Regions from separate parts of the Homo sapiens genome. Here region 2 is linked to region 1. The links are contacts of gene promoters, found by promoter capture Hi-C in blood cells and fetal thymus (Javierre and others, 2016). All regions are on one chromosome and are shown on one strand. The core of a region is centred on a gene start or on the middle of the fragment in contact, and the rest is flanking DNA. Distances in the headings are between cores, read along the strand shown.

Region 1 (3,024 bases), core at 307-2,806:
GCTTAGTAAACGAAGGTTATCGAAGCGGAGTACGCCCTCCTGGCTTTTCGTGCTTGGACCCAAATGAGCGCTTTGACACCAATAGCTAAACTCCATCCGTCGGTGGTGCTGATCAAATTTTATTCTTGAGCCATTTATTGCGTTTATTTCTGTTTTCTGCTCATTAAAATTGTAATTAATGATCTCATCCAAATTTGCTGTAGCGACCACCTTCCAATGGTGTGTTACTTTAACATGCTGAATTCTCAAAATTGTCAAAGGGTTTTCCTTCTCCAGCCCGCAGTTCAACCCTGTCGGGAACGTAAAGATCAGCCAGAGATGGAAGAGATTTAGAGAGTAAAGGAAGCCACCCTTCAACTCCTAAACTCTAGATAGACATCCCACCACCACTGTCCAGGAGCTGGTACATCTCCATCTCCCGTAGCAACTCTAGAATTGGGAGTAGGCGCCAGAGTTTTGGAGAGGGTTTTCAAAAGCTTACAGTTCCCAGGGTGTACCTAGATGCTTCTGTATCTAAAGTTTCCGCCTGAATTTTGATGATTCTACCCCCATGTAAACCCAAAGGAAATAACAACAATAATCAAAGGGAGAAAAGTTAAGGGAAAAAACTCCCTCACTGTTCTCAGGTATAAACATCATCTGACAGATAAATATTCCTATTAAACGGATTCAGTTTTCAGCGAATTGAGTAACCCATAAATGATAATGAACGCGGTGGGAAGCGACGGGCGGGGGGGAACTCGGGAATGAAAAAAAAAATAAAGTGGAGGAGAAAGAACAGAAAAGGAAAGCAGGAGGTGGAAAGATGGAAGAGGACGATCCTTTGGCCTACAAGGGGATTAAGGACATCTATAAGGCTTAAGGAGCAACAAATTAATTTACACAATTCTGGGAGAGCCCAGATGGCCTTTAATTAATCCCTTCAAAAGAAGGAGCCAGGCCAGGGCTGCGCCGGCTGCCTGCTCCATTAGCTCCATTTTACAAGGGACCAGACTTGGTTCGAGGTGAGGCGCCCTCCAGAGCTGGTGGGGGAAGGGGATAGGATGACGCGAGCGGGCTAGTGGGGAAGCAAGGGAAGAATATGAACTGCTTTTCCATAAAAGGGCTGAGTTTTCATTATTCCTCTCTTTAAAAAGTAATACCCTCTTCGTCTCTGCTTCCCCCTCCCCTTTCTCATTTTATTTAGCACAATTAATTGAGGCGGCCACTGGCCCCAGCGCGGAACCGCACCACTCACCAGCTCCCGCCCCTCCTGGCCCCGCCCACAGGAGAAAGAAGTAGGGAGCGGGAGGGGACTAGGCGGGCGCGGCCCTACGCCTGGCCCGCCTCAGCCAATCAGAGGGTGCGGCGCCCCCGAGTGGGCGAGCCCCAGGGGCGACGCAAGGATCGAGGCGGCGAGCTATTGGACACGGTGGTTACGCCCCCGGCCTGCGCCCGGCTCGCCGGCCCCCGCAGCCTCGGAGTGACGTCCCTCAAAGTTCTCATTTTGGTCCCCCACTTCCCCCTCCCTTTCGTCCCCCAGCTAAAGAGGGGTAGGGAGTGATGCAAATGTTTTATTACCTTTGAGAGCTTCATCTGAACTGTCAGGCCCGGAGGGAGAGAGGAAAGGAGAGAAAGAGCGGAGGAGCCGCGGAGAGGGTCAGTTTGGCCAGAGGACAGGACTTAGAAGACCGAAGCCTGGGAAGCCGCGAAGAAAATGCCAGAGAGGAGAGTCAAAGGCTGAGAGTGAGAGGGAGAGAGGGAGCGGGGGTGGGGCGGGGGTCGCCGGGCCCGTTTGCAGAAGTGGACTGACGAGCGGCGCCGAAACCCAGCCGTCAGACTTTTCACACTTAGTCTTTTGTTTTTCTGTGTTTTTCCTCCCCCTTTTTCTTTTCAATATTGCAACTCCAGTGCCCCGTGGGCCAGAGGGCAAGGCGGGTGGAGGTGAGGACCTGGGAGCCGCGGGGATCCGTGGCACTGCCCTTTCTGGCGCAGCAGCCCGGGGCAGCGTGGGCGGAGGAAGCCCGCACAGAGGCTAGATCTCCCGCGGGCTGGATGCGCTTTCTCCCCGGGCACAGTGAGCGTCGAATGCGAATCAGCCGCGCGACCGAAAGAGCAGAGCATCCCAGTAAGATCAGAGGAGCGCCACGGGCTGCACAAGGCGTCCTTTGAACCTCCCCAAAGAAAGCAAGCCACCCCCACCCTCCAACTTCAAAGTGGAGATTCGGCAACTAACTTTGCTACAAACTCTCCGGAGCCAGCCTGGGTTTTGTTTTGCTTATTTCCCGGGGGCAGAAGATGAGAAGTAGCGCACTTTGAACAGCTAGGAAAAGTGAGGAAGAGAGAATAGCCAGGGATCGAATCTAGGACTCGCGGAACGAAAGGACTGCCTAGCCCGCCGGGACGCCTGCTTTTCTCGGCGAGCTGCCGCCTCCCGCGTGGAGGGTTTGGACATCTCTGCTGCGCAGCTAGGCGAGCAACTCCCGGCAGCGGCATTTTTGGTTCAGTTGGCAGCTCGCCTCCGGGCGCGCCGAGTGCCTCTCCGCTCGCGCCCTCGGCGCTTCCGGCTCCTCTGAGCCCCGCGGGGGGCACCAGCCAGCGCCCTCGCTGCAAGGCTACGGTCTCCGGCGTGGCCGTGGGATGTTAGCGGTGGGGGCAATGGAGGGCACCCGGCAGAGCGCATTCCTGCTCAGCAGCCCTCCCCTGGCCGCCCTGCACAGCATGGCCGAGATGAAGACCCCGCTGTACCCTGCCGCGTATCCCCCGCTGCCTGCCGGCCCCCCCTCCTCCTCGTCCTCGTCGTCGTCCTCCTCGTCGCCCTCCCCGCCTCTGGGCACCCACAACCCAGGCGGCCTGAAGCCCCCGGCCACGGGGGGGCTCTCATCCCTCGGCAGCCCCCCGCAGCAGCTCTCGGCCGCCACCCCACACGGCATCAACGATATCCTGAGCCGGCCCTCCATGCCCGTGGCCTCGGGGGCCGCCCTGCCCTCCGCCTCGCCCTCCGGTTCCTCCTCCTCCTCTTCCTCGTCCGCCTCTGCCTCCTCC
Region 2 (2,886 bases), core at 224-2,723, 1.0 Mb after region 1:
TCCACAAAGAATTCTTTGCAAGCAATCCCTCAAGCTCATCCAAAGAATCAATTGTGATCCTCAAAATTACTTACATTCCTCCATCTCCCTCTCCCTTATGAAAAAGTGTACATAAGCATCTGAACCTCATTGGATTATTGGGTAATCACTCTACTGTGATTTTCTCCAGGGCACATTAATAAATTTGTATGCCAGTCGGGAGCGCCTGTAATCCCAGCACTTTGGGAGGCCGAAGGGGGCAGATCACCCGAGGTCAGGAGTTCGAAACCAGCCTGGCCAACATGGTGAAACCTTGTCTCTAATAAAAATACAAAAAAAATAAATAAATAAGCCGGGCTTGGTGGCACGTGCCTGTAATCCCAGCTACTCAGGAGGCTGAGGCAGAAGAATCGCTTGAACCCGGGAAGTGGAGGCTGCAGTGAGCTGAGATGGTGCCACTGCACTCTGGCCTGGGTGACCAAGCGAGACTCAGTCTCAAAAAAATAAAAAATAAAATAAATTCGTATCCCTTTTCCTTCTGTTCATCTTTTCTTTTGTTAGTTCACTCCAGTGAACCTTCAGAGGGCAGAGCTTTCCCTTCACCCCTACAAAATGAAGGCAAGAAACTTAATTCTAGGGAATAAATATATAATCATTAATTATATACATATGTATTGTGTGTTACGCAGCCACAGACAACTGCTTGACAACAAAACCCACAAATGTGCCACACTAATTCAGTAGTCTGCTATTATGCTTACTTTCAGTCATTTAAGAAACATACCTTTACGTGTGTGTGTGTGTGTGTGTGTGTGTAAAATACATTTGCCAAGCCCTGGTCCACTCACCTTACCATTTACATTAAATGAACCAGCTTACTATGATTATGCCTATCATTAAACTGTCAGAACATTAAATATCCATGTATTGTTTAAATTAGGCTGAAGTTTTCTAAAAGCAAGGGAACACACACATGCACACACACAAACACACAGACACAGAACATGGCTAGAGAGTTCTAGCAAAGACAATCCCCAAATGGTTATTAGTATTCTGTAAGTTTCAGTGAGTGAAGGGTGCTAAAATGCAGCTTGAAAACCAAAACCGTGGCATATCCACTGTGGCATCGTAATGTTGCTACTCAACTCTTTTATTCTTGTAATCATTGCTTGTCTTAAAATGACCCTGTCAACCGTGTTCATTTTGATAGCTTTGCATGTTTGTGACAGGTCGCTCAGCAGGCGCAGGCCACCAAAAGCAATTCGCAGCCCTCTGCAGTGGTACCGACATGCAGCGGCCTTCCGGGAGAGGCCGGCAGCAGAAGCGAAGGAGGAGCCGAGCGCGCGGCTGGGGACCCGCCCGCGCCCGCCCTCAGCCCCCTCGCCCCGCCCCTCTGCGGAGCGCGCAGCAGCCCGTGCGCCGGCGCAGGCCCCGCCTCCTCGCTGGGCCCCGCCTCGCTGCCACCACAGGGTCTTGCCTCCGCGCGCCCCGCCCTCGTCCTCTTGTGTAGCCTGAGGCGGCGGTAGCATGGAGGGGGAGAGTACGTCGGCGGTGCTCTCGGGCTTTGTGCTCGGCGCACTCGCTTTCCAGCACCTCAACACGGACTCGGACACGGTGAGCCGAGGGACGGGGCGGGGTCCGGCGTCGCCTGGGAAGAGCCCTGCGCGCGGCCTGCCTCCCCGCTGTTGCTCCGGTCCCCGCCCGCTCCCCCGACGCCGCCGCGCCTCCTCCCTGCGGTCGCGGCTCTGCCTTCTCTCCCCCTCAGCGGTCCCTGAGGTGCCTCGTGCCCACGAAGTCTTCTCCAGCATTAGCCCTCCCTCTGCTATCCTCCGTTATTTCCCTTTTCCGACCCAAGTGTCCCACACGCTCCCATCTTTCCTCGGCGCCCCTGTAGCTGTGGAAACTTGGGCGTGAAAAGATGGAAAGTTCACGGAGCGTCTTTCCGCTGCTCTGCGGAGCCTGCGGTAAACTTTCCGTTTCTCGCGACGCCCGACAGGCGTTTGCAAAACCAGGCGGACTTTTTCATGCAGAGCAGCGTCTGTGCGTGTTTGTTGCGATGGTAGGATGGTAAGGGAATAAAAATAGATGTTGCGTCCAGTGGCAAATCTTAGTGGATGGAACAGCTTAATCTGGTATATCAGATATCTTTTTATTTGCGTTATTAAATTTGTTAAAACAGTTTTTAAAAGTACGTTGCCTATTTTCTAAAAGTTCTATGAAATTAAAGAAACGCTGTAAAACGTTGAGCTCGGAAGTAGTTAATGTCCTGTAGCACTTTCAGTAACTTGCAGAAAGAAAGTCTAAGCATCTGAAATACACTTCCCTGCTGTGTGGTACAGTTCGGAGAATACCCTGCTGAACAATGCCTAGTAATTTCTGCTAAGTTCATTTTAAGATATAACGTCTATTTTACTCAAAATTGCCTTAATATAGGTCGGGCGCGGTGGCTCACGCCTGTAATTCCAGCCCTTTGGGAAGCCGAGGCGGGTGAATCACCTGAGCCCACGAGTTCGAGACCATCGGGGACAACGTAGTGAGACCCGGTCTCTACAAAATCTAAACATTACAAAATTGCTCTTTGGCACAATCCTAATAAAGGTTGGAATTGGTATGTTTTATGTATACAATTTCAGATAACCTTACAAAGTAATACCTAATAAAGAACAAATATATGACCATTTAAAATATATGTGTAGCTGTGGAAATTATTTTGGAATACCTGTAGTGTAGATAGAGTGGGACCGTAAATCCTCGGTAGCTTAAACGATTAGCCCTTGGGAAGTACCTGAGTGCTAGGGAGGCCCCTGTTTCTCAGATCTTTTTCCTGAAGTCTTTAAAGGGTGGTTTTTCTGGCTAGTTGCACTTGCATTGCCCCCCTGCTTCCCTTCCCTGAGTTCGTCTTTTGAG

What was found. Contacts are between HindIII fragments. The CHiCAGO score rates a contact against its expected background, and 5 or more counts as called.
Region 2: a fragment that was not itself captured here is called in contact with the fragment with the promoter of NKX6-1 in region 1 in 1 of 17 cell types (monocytes); the score reaches 9.1 in monocytes.

What each region holds. Positions count from the first base shown.
Region 1 is chr4:84,497,824-84,500,847 of GRCh38, reverse strand. It overlaps NKX6-1 (NK6 homeobox 1), which reads left to right and starts at 1,556. Exons shown (of 3, transcript NM_006168.3): 1 at 1,556-3,024. The coding sequence starts at 2,620. The HindIII fragment of the contact is 5,978 bases long and covers 479-3,024 here.
Region 2 is chr4:83,483,693-83,486,578 of GRCh38, reverse strand. It overlaps ABRAXAS1 (abraxas 1, BRCA1 A complex subunit), which reads left to right and starts at 1,479. Exons shown (of 9, transcript NM_139076.3): 1 at 1,479-1,593. The coding sequence starts at 1,507. RefSeq lists a silencer at 1,264-1,753. The HindIII fragment of the contact is 4,128 bases long and covers 1-2,886 here.